Regions from separate parts of the Homo sapiens genome. Here regions 2 and 3 are each linked to region 1. Evidence: promoter capture Hi-C in human tissues and cell types (Jung and others, 2019). All regions are on one chromosome and are shown on one strand. Each heading gives the region's core, a stretch centred on a gene start or on the middle of the fragment in contact. The rest is flanking DNA. Distances are from core to core; before and after follow the strand shown. Region 1 holds the start of TTLL10 (tubulin tyrosine ligase like 10). Region 2 overlaps C1orf159 (chromosome 1 open reading frame 159). Region 3 holds the start of RNF223 (ring finger protein 223).

Region 1 (4,071 bases), core at 549-3,048:
TCAGGACAGCACCCGCCACACACTGCGCAGTCTGCAGGGCTGTGGTGATGGTGACTGTGGGGGTGACGGGAGGCAGAGAGCTCAGGGACAGCTCAGGATAGGCGGGAACACAAGCACATGTGAAAAGCAAGGCGATCGCCAACTCTGAGGAAAACAAATGGGCACCACCCGGGGAGGCCGGGCAGCTCTGCCCCAAACATCATTCGTGCCGGGATGATATGGACAGGGCAGCGTGTGGAAGACAAGCCCCTTTCACCGTCCACGGGGAATTTCTGCACTGGAAGCTCCAGAAGCAGCAGCATCAGGTGCTTTTTGGAAACAGGCAGTTAGAAAGCGGAAGCACAGCACCCACCCCCCCACCCAGGAAACTGCCTCCGTCTCTTCTGCTGCAGAAGAAGCAGCAGCTGGAAGAGGCAGCCAGGTGCTGATTTCATCGTAAGCCTGAGGCCTCCTTTGGGCTTTTCTAACTTTATGTCCTTATGATGTTCACAAATAACTAAATAAGTTGTGAGCTGTTATTTCTTGTCATTGAAATTAAAGGTGTTTTTTTTTTTAATTTTTTTAGACGAAGTCTCACTCTGTCGCCCAGGCTGGAGTGCAATGGCGCAATCGCGGCTCACTGTAACCTCCGCCTCCCAGGTTCAAACAATTCTCCCGCCTCAGCCTCCTGAGTAGCTGGGATTACAGGCGCCTGCTGCCATGCCCGGCTAATTTTTGTATTTTTAGTAGAGACAGGGTTTCTCCATGTTGACCAGGCTGGTCTCAAACTCCTGACCTCGTGATCCGCCCACCTCGGCCTCCCAAAGTGCTGGGATTACAGGCGTGAGCCACCGCCCCGGACTGAAATCAAAGGTTTCTTAAGCAGCTGCCCGCTGTGTGTGTGGTGAACCCGGGGCCTGAATGCAGGTGGGACGCAGCCTCCCAAGCGCCGGGAGCCGCTGGCTCCTCACGCCTGTCGATCTAGCAAATGTGCTTTGGAGTCTCTGACGGACGCGATTCTGAATCCAGAAGGAAAGCGTCTCACTCCGAGATGCTGACTGACGTGTCCTTTATAGCGGTGGGACTTGGGAAGCCGGTGACGCCCGGTGTGGAGGACGGTTGTGACGCCCCTCGGTGGGGACACGGTGTAAAGGCGGCGTGGAAACTTGGTGCACGACCTTACAATAAATTGTAAAATAAGCGTTTTACCTGGTGAGATGAAAAGACCGGCAGGAGACGGCACCCCGGTAGGATGAACAGAAGAGACTTTTAAACCTGAAGAAATCATCCAAAAAGCGACCACATGTTAGTGTCCTGCTGCGAGTTCTCCCCCCAGAATCCAAGCTTGGCCACGTGGGGCCCTAGGAAGGTACTGACATTGTTCGAAGAGCTGGTGCCTCCCGGCCGGAGGCCGCTGTCAAAGGACGCACGACCTGTGGGCTCAAGCAGCCGTCCGTCCAGGACTTGCTCTGCGGAGGCAGACCTGGTCCCAGGCCACGGAGCTCGTCCCAGGGCTGCCCAGCCCTCCCACCCCACCGGGTACACACACCGTTCCCCGGCCTGGCCTGGACCCGAGCCTCTCGCACGGTGGCGCTGGGGTCCGGGACCCGCAGAGCAGGCTCAGCCTGGCCCCACCCTACCCGATCCCTGTCCAGTCCCCTCCCCAGCCTCCTCCTCTCCTGAGCAGCCTCCCGAGGGGACCCGCAGGCAGGGCGTAGGAGGGCGGGGCCGAGCCCACTGGACCCCAGCTGGTGGCCGCCGGCGCTTCTTACCTGCCCAGCCCACAAGGTCCTGGGAGCCTGGGCCAGGAAACAACAGTGGTGACCTGGCAACCGTCTCCTGGCAACCCCCACCCAGCCGGAACCCAGAGGTGAGCTTGGGTTTTCGGAGGATGGGGAGGGGCTGCTGAGTGGCGGGGCCAGCCCGGGAAGCCGGGCTGAGGGCTGAGGCTGGAGAAGGGCACAGCTTCATGGGCACAGCTGCCTCCCAGTCACTGCTGGGACTGCCTGAGCCTGAGCCCCAGTTGCTGCCCCTCCGCCCGGCCCTCCCAGGATGGTCCCTGAGCCGTCTCTCAGGCCCCACCCATGCTCAGCACCCCAGGACCTGGCCCGGGCCAGGCTCTGCGTGCACCCTGGTGATGTTGGCTGGATACACGGCTGCCGATCCCTGAGCATTCTCTGTGCTTCACGTGGTCGGGTCCCTGTTCTCACTCCACAGCGGACGAGGTGCCACTGTGCCCCCCTCTGCAAACAGGAACCGGGGGCTCCACAAAGTGAGTGCCCCCCAGAGGGGGACTCACATCTATCGGTCCAAACTGCACCTTTCTGTAAGCCCCTCGCTGTGTCACAGACCTCGGCCAAAGTGAAGCATTCCGCAGGGGTTTGGGCCGTGAGGAACAGCCTGCCCGACACCTGACTTGAACACTCTGCGGGGAAAAACACCGAGGAACATCACGATTACCTTCTGCGGGAACAAGGGCCAAACAAACGGCCTCATCCTGAAGCCGTGTGGCCCGGGCCGCTCCCACCCATACCTATAGGCACCCCAGCCCGTAGGCGGCAGTGGGCTCTGGCATCCAGCTGGTCCCCCACCTCTGCAGGTGTTTGCAATGTACCCGTGTTGATGTAAGGCTGCCCTTTCTCCATCTCTGTGTGTCTTTGTTTAACCCTCACATTCTCTCTTTTTTTTTTTTCAAAATACGGAGTCTCACTCTTTTGCCCAGGCTGGAGTGCAATGGTACGGTCTCGGCTCACTGCAACCTCCGCCTCCCAGGATCAAGCAATTCTCCTGCCTCAGCCTCCCGAGTAGCTGGGATTACAGGTGCCCACCACAGTGCCCAGCTAATTTTTGTATTTTTAATATTAATTTTATTTTTTATTTTTATTTTGTTTTATATTTTATATATTTATTATTTTATATATTATTTTCTATATTATTATAATTATTTTATTATTAATTTATTATTAATTTTAGAGGGTTTCATCATGTTGGCCAGGCTGCTCTTGAACTCCTGACCTCAGGTGATCCGCCCGCCTCGGCCTCCCAAAGTGCTGGGATTACAGGCGTGAGTCACTGCGCCTGGCCTGCCCTCGCCTTCTCTTTAAAACACCTAATGATACGAGGTCTGGGAGTCCTGGGCTCCTGGCATGACCCATGGCACGGTCTGATCCCCTCTGCCTCAAACTCTGAGCCTCCAGCCACGTGTCCCCTACCCATCCGTGTCCTTCAGAGCTTTGCGTGGGTCACGAGGGCCTCTGTGCTTAGGGTCCCCTTGCAGGGGGCTGGTGGTGCCCCCAAAAGACAACCACATCATAGCCCTGAAACCTCGAATGTGACCTTATTTAGAAGAAGGGGCTTTGCAGGTGGGGTTACGTCAGGATCTCTAGTGACATCACCCAGGGCAGGCCCTGAATCAATGGCCTCTGCCCCCCTGAGAGGGAGGTGGAGAGAGGAGACGCAGACGTGGGGGAGACGCCGTGGGACTGGGGGGCAGAGATGGGTGACACGGCCACAGCCACTGATGCCTGAGCTGGCAGGGGCTGGGGAGGCAGACAGGGTCCTCTCCTGGAGCCCCCAGAGGGGTGCAGCCCTGCCTGCCCTGTGGCTTTGGAGTTCTGGCCTCCAGATGCGGGCGTAAGCGTCTGTTGTTGTGCCTGCCTGTGTGGTTTTTCAGCAGCCGGGAGGAGAAGCCACCCTTTCGAGAGTGTGGTGCCCGCTCCGGAGCCGCCTCCCCGACCCACGCCGGGGCGGCAGCCTGGGGGTTCCCCGCTCTGTGTCCCTGGGGCCTGAGCTGTGGGGGAAGAAGGGGCCCCGGCTGTCCCTGGGGAGTCCCTGGAAGGAAGAGAGAGCTCTCGGAAGCGGGGCGGTGGGGGGCGTCTCCCACCGTCCTCCTGGTTCTGTCCAGCTGGGAACAGTGTCCTCGTCCCCTCCCCGCACTCCCACCTTGCGCCTGGTGCTCAAGCTTTGAGATGGTCCCGCTGGACCCTGGTGCGGAGCAGACCCAGGAGGCCCCTCTGCCCTCTGGGAGCCTCAGGTCAGGTGGCAGGTGGGGCTGGGGCAGGTCCTGGGCTGAGTGGCTGGGCCTTCGGGGAG
Region 2 (4,430 bases), core at 229-2,728, 64 kb after region 1:
AGCCTCCACACCTGCCCTGAAACCAGTTCTTCTAAGGGAAAATAAGAGTGGTCAAAGAGTGTATAGCACAATTTAAATTCTCACTAAATTTTTCATTGCCTTGTAGAAATTTTCATCCCATTATTTAGCTTTTTGGCTCCAATGAGATTTTCAAAATAGAAAATGCATGTGTTTAGTTACTAAGGCATAATTTACATGCAGTGAAACACACAGAGCTTGTGTCCAGTTCAATTGTTTTGACAAAGGATTCACCAGACTCCTGTCGTGATGTAGAATCTGCCTGTGATCCATGGAGATTGCCTCGCAGGCTGCTCCAGCGCCCGCCTGCCGCGCCAGACAGGAGCGCTGCTGTGATTTTACCGACACTCTGAGTGTTAGGAGTCACACGTGCGGGCGGTTTTGCGTCTGCCACGGCTCACGCAGAGAACTGTTGTTGAGCTTCCTCTGAGGTGCTGCACAAGGAGTGGGTGTGGGATGCGCTGTTGCGTGCTCGTCGTCTCTGAGGGCGCCCGGGTGGGTTTCCGCTGTCTGAAGAGTTGGGCCTATTTTTGTGCACGTGTTTGGCGGGCGTGTGTTGTTTCTCTTGGGAACGTGCCCGGGGGGAAGGCTGCATCCCAGGTGTGGAAGTCCCAGCGGTTCTGTGTGTCCCCACAGCCGAGAGGCTGAGTGCCGTTTGGTCGTGGAGGCTTTAGTTTGCATTTCCCTGACGCTCACCCGTGTTGAGCACTGTCCACTCATCTGTTGCCATTCGCACACGTTTTCTGAGTGTCCGAGGATGTCTTTTGCCCATTTTTTTGATGACCAGATTGTGAAAGTCCTTTATATATTCCATATTCAGGGCTTTTGTCTGGTACGTGTACTGTGACTATCTCCCATTCTTTGATTTGCCTATTAATTTTATTACTGATGTTGTAAACTAAGAATAAAATCCTAAGTCCCCCGCCGACTGAACGAGCTCCCTCTTGGTCAAGGGGACCCCAGAGAAACCTTAAAAATTGAGTTTCCGGCCATAAAAGGATGGGAGGTTGGACACACCTGGTTATACTGCCACCCTTTTTCAGTTTAGACACAACTGACCAACATTAGTGTTAAAGTGGAGATCACGAGACTGACAGACTCTGCGGCAATAAGACGCCGAGTTATAATCAGGACCTAAGGCCGTGCCAGGCCGGGGTTAAGTCACACACCCTTACAGTTAAAGAATAAGGCTTGGGTTTTCTTTTCCTCTAGCAGTTAAGCAGGCACTGGCCTGAGACAAGCGGTATGGAAACAGTGATGGCTCGCTGCCAGGCACTAACTGACCCCCCATTTCACGGCCATAACTACAGCGTCACTTTCCATAACTTCCTCCTGATAAGACACCACTGGCCACGGACTGGTTCTGCTGGTCTATGGAGGATGTGACTGGAGTGACTCCCGGGCCGCGCCTCACCTTTGGCCATATAGGGCCTAATTGTCTTACATGTAAATGTGAAATCTCACCTCTCAGTGAACATGGGTCCTGCGTTACATGCATGTTTATCTAGTACACATGCATTAAGACAGGAGAGAGGAGCGCTTGAGCCCAGGAGTTCAAGACCAGCCTGCGAAACACAGCAAGACACCCTTTTTACCAAAAAATAAAAATAAAATTAGCCAGATATGGTGGCAGGCATGTAGTCCTAGCTACTTGGGAGGCTGAGGCGGGAGAGTTGCTTGAGCCCAGGAGTTCAAGATGGCGGTGAGCTATGATTGCACCACTGCACTCCAGCCTGGGCAACAGAGCAAACCCATCTCTAAAAGAAAGAAAGAAATTTTAAAAAGGAGGAAAGGAAAGAAAGGAGAAAAGAGGAAAGGAAAAAGGAAAGGAAACTGTTCCCATTAAACACTAACTCCCCATTCCTCCCTGCCCCCCAGCCCCTGGCAACCACCGTTGTCTTTTCTGTCTCTATGAATTCGACAACCCTGGGAACCTCATGAGTAGAATCATACAGTATTTGTCCTGTTGTGATGAGCTGCTTTCACTTAGCATAGTGTTTTCAAGGTTCATTCCTGTTGTAGCATGCGTCCAAAATTTCTTTTCAGGACTGTAGAATATTCCACGGTCTGTATAGACCACCTTTTGTTTATCCATTCATCTGTGGGTGGACACTTGCTCCCACCTTTTGGCTGTGGTGAACAATGCTGCTGCAGACATGGTGGCTGTGGTGAACGGTGCCGAGACATGGTGGCTGTGGTGAACGGTGCTGCCGAGACATGGTGGCTGTGGTGGACGGTGCTGCTGAGACATGGTGGCCGTGGTGGATGGTGCTGAGACATGGTGGCTGTGGTGAACGGTGCTGCCGAGACATGGTGGCTGTGGTGGACGGTGCTGCCGAGACATGGTGGCTGTGGTGGACGGTGCTGCTGAGACATGGTGGCCGTGGTGGATGGTGCCGAGACATGGTGGCTGTGGTGAACAATGCTGCTGCAGACATGGTGGCTGTGGTGAACGGTGCCGAGACATGGTGGCTGTGGTGAACGGTGCTGCCGAGACATGGTGGCTGTGGTGGACGGTGCTGCTGAGACATGGTGGCCGTGGTGGATGGTGCTGAGACATGGTGGCTGTGGTGAACGGTGCTGCCGAGACATGGTGGCTGTGGTGGACGGTGCTGCTGAGACATGGTGGCTGTGGTGAACGGTGCCGAGACATGGTGGCTGTGGTGGACGGTGCCGAGACATGGTGGCTGTGGTGAATGGTGCCGAGACATGGTGGCTGTGGTGGACGGTGCTGCCGAGACATGGTGGCTGTGGTGGACGGTGCTGCTGAGACATGGTGGCTGTGGTGAACGGTGTCGAGACATGGTGGCTGTGGTGGACGGTGCTGCTGAGACATGGTGGCTGTGGTGAACGGTGCCGAGACATGGTGGCTGTGGTGAACAGTGCCAAGACATGGTGGCTGTGGTGGACGGTGCTGCTGAGACATGGTGGCTGTGGTGAACGGTGCCGAGACATGGTGGCTGTGGTGGACGGTGCTGCTGAGACATGGTGGCTGTGGTGAACGGTGCTGCTGAGACATGGTGGCTGTGGTGAACGGTGCTGCTGAGACATGGTGGCTGTGGTGAACGGTGCTGAGACATGGTGGCTGTGGTGGACGGTGCTGCTGAGACATGGTGGCTGTGGTGAACAGTGCTGAGACATGGGGCTGTGGTGAATGGTGCTGCCGAGACATGGTGGCTGTGGTGAATGGTGCTGCTAATGTGTCTAGAATTGGTGGATTCTTGGTCTCACTGACTTCAAGAATGAAGCCGCAGACCCTCGCAGTGAGTGTTACAGTTCTTAAAGATGGTGTGTCCGGAGTTTGTTCCTTCTGATGTTCAGATGTGTTTGGAGTTTCTTCCTTCTGGTGGGTTCGTGGTCTCACTGGCTTCAGGAGTGAAGCTGCAGACCTTTGCAGTGAGTGTTACAGCTCATAAAGGCAGTGCAGACCCAAAGAGTGAGCAGCAGCAAGATTTATTGCAAAGAGCGAAAGAACAAAGCTTCCATAGTGTGGAAGGGGACCCGAGTGGGTTGCTGCTGCTGGCTCCGGCAGCCTGCTTTTATTCCCTTATCTGACCCCACCCACATCCTGTTGATTGGCCCATTTTACAGACAGCTGATTGGTCCATTTTATAGAGAGCTGATTGGTCTGTTTTGACAGGGTGCTGATTAGTGCGTTTACGATCCCTGAGCTAGACACAGAATGATATTTACAGTCCTCTAGCTAGACGTAAAAGTTCTCCAAGTCCCCACTAGATTAACTAGACACAGAGCAGCGATTGGTGCATTTACAAACCTTGAGCTAGACACAAGGTGCTGATTGGTGCGTTTACAAACCTTGAGCTAGACACAGAGTGCTGATTGGTGTATTTACAATCCTGTAGCTAGACATAAAGGTTCTCCAAGTCCCCACCGGATTAGCTAGATACAGAGAGTGCTGATTGGTGCATCCACAAACCCTGAGCTAGACACGGAGTGCTGATTGGTGCATTTACAATCCTCCAGCTAGACATAAAAGTTCTCCAAGTCCTCACCCGACTCAGGAGCCCAGCTGGCTTTGCCTAATGGACCCAGCGCCTGGCCGCAGGCAGAGCTGCCCACCAGTCCAGTGCCGTGCGCTACACTCCTCAGCCCTTGGGTGGTTGATGGGATCGGGTGCCGCGGAGCAGGGGGTGGTGCCCGTTGGGGAGGCTCGGGCTGTGTGGGAGCCCACGGGCGGGGGTGCGGGGGGCCTCGGGCATGGCAGGCTGCCGAGCCCTGCCCCGCGTGGAGGCAGCTGAGGCCCGGCAAGAATTCGAACCTGGTGCAGGGGGGCTGGCAGTGCTGGGGGACCCTCCACAGCTGCTGGCCCAGGTGCTAAACCCCTCACTGCCCAGGGCCGGGGGTGCCGGCAGGTGCTCTGAGTGCGGGGCCCGCCGAGCCTGCACCCACCC
Region 3 (4,442 bases), core at 565-3,064, 100 kb after region 1:
AGCCTCAGCCTCCCCCCACGGAGTCCCCATAGACTCAGCCTCCCCCGATGGAGTCCCCATAGCCTCAGCCTCCCAGCACGGAGTCCCCATAACCTCAGCCTCCCCCCACGGAGTCCCCATAGCCTCAGCCTCCCGCCACGGAGTCCCCATAGCCTCAGCCTCCCGGCACGGAGTCCCCATAGCCTCAGCCTCCCCCCACGGAGTCCCCATAGCCTCAGCCTCCCCCCACAGAGTTCCCATAGCCTCAGCCACCCCGCACGGAGCCCCTCACAGAGCTCCCACCCCTCCCCAGCTCTTGAGTCCCCAGCCCTCCCTGTCTGAAAGCCCAGCCCCAGCCCGCGCCCCGCTCTCTGAGCATCCACCCCTCCCTGTCTGAGCACCCAAATCCGCTCTCTGAACCCCCCTAACCCCCGACTGAGAGTCCTCATGGAACTGGCAGGGGTCCCCCCAACCCCTGACTGAGAGTCCTCATGGAACTGGCAGGGGTCCCCCCAACCCCCGACTGAGAGTCCTCATGGAACTGGCAGGGGTCCGGCCCTTCCTGAGCCCAAGTCCCTGTGCTCCTCCTCGGGGTGTTGCCCCCTGGCCTCTGCAGTCCTGGTTCCCACTTCCCAGCATCCCTTGGGCTCCAGGATGCCCGCGGCAGCCCTGGGGGAGCCTCTGGGTCCCTACTGAGGGGTCGGCGGGCACCTGCATGGGAGTTGCCTGAGGGCAGTCTGTGGGGTGGCCCGGCCAGCTCTCCCACTAGGGTGGGTCCCTCACTCCCAGCCCCACCCAGTGTGGCACCCCCCCAGGCTGGTGTGTGGAGTCCCAGCTCAGGTCCGGCCCAGGCCTCATGGCGGGGATGGGGCTGTGGCAGCCGGGTCGGACCTCCCCTTGCATGAGGTCCACTGGGCTGGGAGAGAGACGCCTCAGTGAGGTGGGGAGCTGGCAGCTGGACAGCCTGGGGGTGCAGCTCTACACCAGGCCCTCGGGCCCACAGCGGGGTGTGCGGGGGACGGGGCAGCCCATGCCACTGGCTGCTCCTCTGAGACCCACACATCCTCCATCCCAGCCCTGCCAGCCTCAGCCCCCAGACTCTCAACCAGCTCCAGCCCTGGTCTTTGCACAGACCAGTCCTGTAGTCTGCTAGGGCATGTGGACATGGCATGTGTGTGTGTGTGGACACAGGGCACGTGTGTGAGAGCATGTGGACATGGCATGTGTGTGAGAGTGTGGACACGGCGTGTGAGTGTGGACACGGCGTGTGTGAGTGTGGACATGGCATATGTGAGCTTCCGGACACGGCACGTGTGTGAGAGCCTGTGGACACGGGGGCATAGAGCGTGTGAACACATGGCCCATGTGTGAGAGCAGCCACGTATGTGTATGGATGAGGCAGGTGAGCACATGGGTGGGTGTGGGCAGGGAAGTGGCAGGAATGGGCTGTGAGGGCAGGCAGCAGTGAGCAAAGGGCAGGGGCAGGCTGGGCATAGGTTGTGGGGGGCTCGGGGAGGGCCCCTGCTAGGAGGCCCACCCAGGAGCTCAGGGGCCACAGGGACCTGGAACTGCGGTGAGCAGCTTCCAGCAGGTGCTCCAGCCTCCTGGGGCTATAGGGAGAGAGGGCTTTGTCCAAGCACACACCCCAGCCCAGACCTGCCCAGGCTGCAGCGGCTGTGCTGACCCCTACCCGGCTCCGACCCTCACCCCTCCCTCCCTGCCCTCCAGCTGCCTGGCCCGCCAAGGAGAGGATGAAGCCAGCCAATCCCTGAGGCTTGCGGCCACACCCTTGGCCCATAGGGTATAAATAGACCTGCTTGGGAGCCCACACCCAGCAACTCACACCTGCCTCAGACCAGAGCTCTGTGCGGGTGACGGCGCACGCATTCCTTGTGTCCCCGCCTGTCTTGGACAGAGCAGAAGCCACACCTGCCAGACCAGTGCCACCGGGACAGCTGCTGGTGGCCGGCCCCGGGGAGGGATACCTGCTGGGTGAAGCACAGGCCGGGCCGGGCCCGGAGAAGAGGAAGCAGACACTGCCACGGCAGGGCAGCCCAGGGCCTTGGAGCCCAACCGTGGCCGGCGAGGAGGACCACGCCCAGGCCCGCTGACCCCCGGCCACCAGGTAAGGCCAGCTCAGCCCGTGTTCACCCCTTACCTGCACAGGCTCAGGGTGGGGCACCATCGTGGAGGGGTGGGGCCTCGTGCCAAGGAACCGGTTCTGTGGGGTACACAGGCCGCAGAGCACAGTCCCCAGGTCCCGGTGCCTGGGGCACTCACGGCCTCACAGTGACGGCGTGTGACTCAGGTGGTCACAGTGACCTGTGTCATCCCGCCAGCCTGTCTGGGACTCACTGGCAAGTCAGGGGTGGGGCGGGGCAGTGCCAGGAGTCACTTCTGGGGCAGCCTCCTGGGCCCCACGGGGACGCACGGCCAGGCCCTTGAGTCTCACTGTCACCCTTGCCCACTTCCCTCCAGGTGGGACCCCTGTGGCTCCCTGCAGCGGATCCTGGGTGCAGGGGAGGGGCGGGAGGTGGAGCAGGGTCCCAGGTCAGCTGAGATGCCCACCTGAGCCATGCCCAGGGGCAGAGCAGCATCCCCCAGTGTCCGTCCCCCAGGGTCCCTGCCATGAAGTGGGATTGGGTCAGGGAGAAGAAACACCCACTCAGTGGGCGGCTGAGGGTGCCCTGACCATCACCTGACCATGAGGCAGTGGGCTGGCCCAGAGGGAATGGCTGGGCTTATCCAAGTCCCACCCCCACACTGTGCACATCAGACCCTCAGCAGCTAGACAAGCCGGCCCCGCAGGCCGCAGGTCGTGCCTGACGTGCACCTTCCTCGGGCACTGACCCCTGCCCCTGCCTGGGCCCTCCCTGTCGTCCCAAAGCCCCCGGGGCTCAGCCCGGTCCCCAGACCCAGAGACCCCCACACCCCACCCTCACATAGCTGCCTACAAATCAGGCCTGCACCGCCCAAGCCAGGCACCCATCCTGGGATCTGAGTTCAAACTCACTTCACTTGACTTGGAGTCCCTGGCCTGCCTGAGAGCCGTATCTGCCAGGGTCCAGGGCCCGCCAGCTCCCTTGGGGTGGCCCTGGCCGAGTCACCCATGCTCTGGGCGGCCTTTTCCACACTGTGGCGTTGTGTGAGTCCCGTGATGTGGGCCCAGCCTTGCAGAGCTCCGACATAAACAGTGACGACTGTGGCTATTGTCATCCTCACCATTATTTCTGCCCGGGCAGCAGGGCCAGCCAGGTGGGGCAGGGCCAACAGGAGGTGTCTGCCGAGCGGTCAGTGAGACCCCCCTACACACGGCCTGCATTCCCGGAGCAGGCCTGGGGCCCTGTGGGAGGCTCACCCCGGTGCAGCCATGTGATGGGGTGGAGAGGACAGGATTGCACGTGGGGCAGAATGACCTCCAGGGGCACCGGAGGAACTTTCTGGAGTGGCGCGCAGGAAACAGAGTCCTTCCCTGGGATCTCTGGGGCGAGAGAGGGGAGGGAGAGATAAAACACCACCAGAAAGGGGCGGCCGGTGATTGCTTACCACAGTCCCTGTCCCACAGCTCAGAGACATGTCGTCAGGCCAGCAGGTGTGGCACACGGCTGTGCCACCCCCTCGCCGGAGCAGCTCCATAGCCTCGATGCCCAGGTCCCCCAGCTCGGCCGGCAGCCCCAGGTCCCCTGGCACCCCTGGCTCGGAGAGGGTGGCCTCCCCCCTGGAGTGCTCCATCTGTTTCTCAGGCTATGACAACATCTTCAAGACACCCAAGGAGCTCTCCTGCACCCACGTCTTCTGCCTGGAGTGCCTGGCCCGGCTGGCGGCTGCTCAGCCTGTGGGCCGCCCCGGTGGTGAGGCTGTACCTTGCCCCTTCTGCAGGCAGCCCACGGCCGTGCCGCCCGCCGGAGCCCCCGCGCTGTGCACCAGCCGCCAGCTGCAGGCCCGGATGCCGGCGCATTTGCGGCGTGAGGAGCCTGTGTGGCTGGAGGGCACCAAGCTGTGCTGCCAGCCACTGCCCACCACACCTGGCCGCGAGCCCGGTTTCGTATGCGTGGACGTGGGTTTGAGCAAGCCTGCCGAGCCGCCCGCGCCCGCCCGGGACCCTGCCCCCCGCCGGGGCCGCCTGGCCCGCTGCTGGGCGCGCTGCAGGGACTGGAGGCGCATGGCACTGGTCTCTGCCCTGCTGCTGATGCTCTTCTGTGTGGCACTCTGGCCGGTGCAGTGCGCGCTCAAGACCGGGAACCTGCGCTGCCTGCCCCTGCCCCCCCGGCCCCCGGCCACCAGCACAGCCGCCTCCCCCCTCGGGCCTCTGACTGATAATTAGGGCCAGCAGCCTCTGCCCAGGTCAGCCGCCCTCGCCCAGCTCCATGGGGCGTCCCCCACTGGGGGGCCCAAGGGCACAGCAGCCACTGGAAGTCGGTCCCCGAGGACGCGAAAGGAGCCTGGCATCTCTGAGGACTCCA

Evidence for each region. Contacts are between HindIII fragments. The study calls those that stand out against the background at their distance.
Region 2: a contact is called between a fragment that was not itself captured here and the fragment with the promoter of TTLL10 in region 1, in 11 of the 25 tissues and cell types used here (H1 embryonic stem cells, IMR-90 fibroblasts, bladder and 8 more).
Region 3: a contact is called between the fragment with the promoter of RNF223 here and the fragment with the promoter of TTLL10 in region 1, in 5 of the 25 tissues and cell types used here (IMR-90 fibroblasts, lymphoblastoid cells, mesenchymal stem cells and 2 more).

What each region holds. Positions count from the first base shown.
Region 1 is chr1:1,171,607-1,175,677 of GRCh38, reverse strand. TTLL10 (tubulin tyrosine ligase like 10) reads right to left here and starts at 1,798. Exons shown (of 16, transcript NM_001130045.2): 1 at 1,752-1,798; 2 at 1,357-1,393; 3 at 1,189-1,254. It overlaps TTLL10-AS1 (TTLL10 antisense RNA 1), which reads left to right. Exons shown (of 2, transcript NR_173246.1): 2 at 1-2,622. RefSeq lists an enhancer at 1-81 and a silencer at 1,559-1,648. The HindIII fragment of the contact is 14,261 bases long and covers 1-4,071 here.
Region 2 is chr1:1,106,833-1,111,262 of GRCh38, reverse strand. All of the region lies in intron 1 of C1orf159 (chromosome 1 open reading frame 159), which reads left to right. Among named protein-coding and RNA genes, the nearest start is that of C1orf159, 7.0 kb to the left of the region's middle. The HindIII fragment of the contact is 6,974 bases long and covers 1-4,430 here.
Region 3 is chr1:1,071,678-1,076,119 of GRCh38, reverse strand. It overlaps RNF223 (ring finger protein 223), which reads left to right and starts at 1,814. Exons shown (of 2, transcript NM_001205252.2): 1 at 1,814-2,104; 2 at 3,545-4,442. The coding sequence starts at 3,554. The coding sequence ends at 4,303. RefSeq lists an enhancer at 1,622-2,121. The HindIII fragment of the contact is 34,324 bases long and covers 1-4,442 here.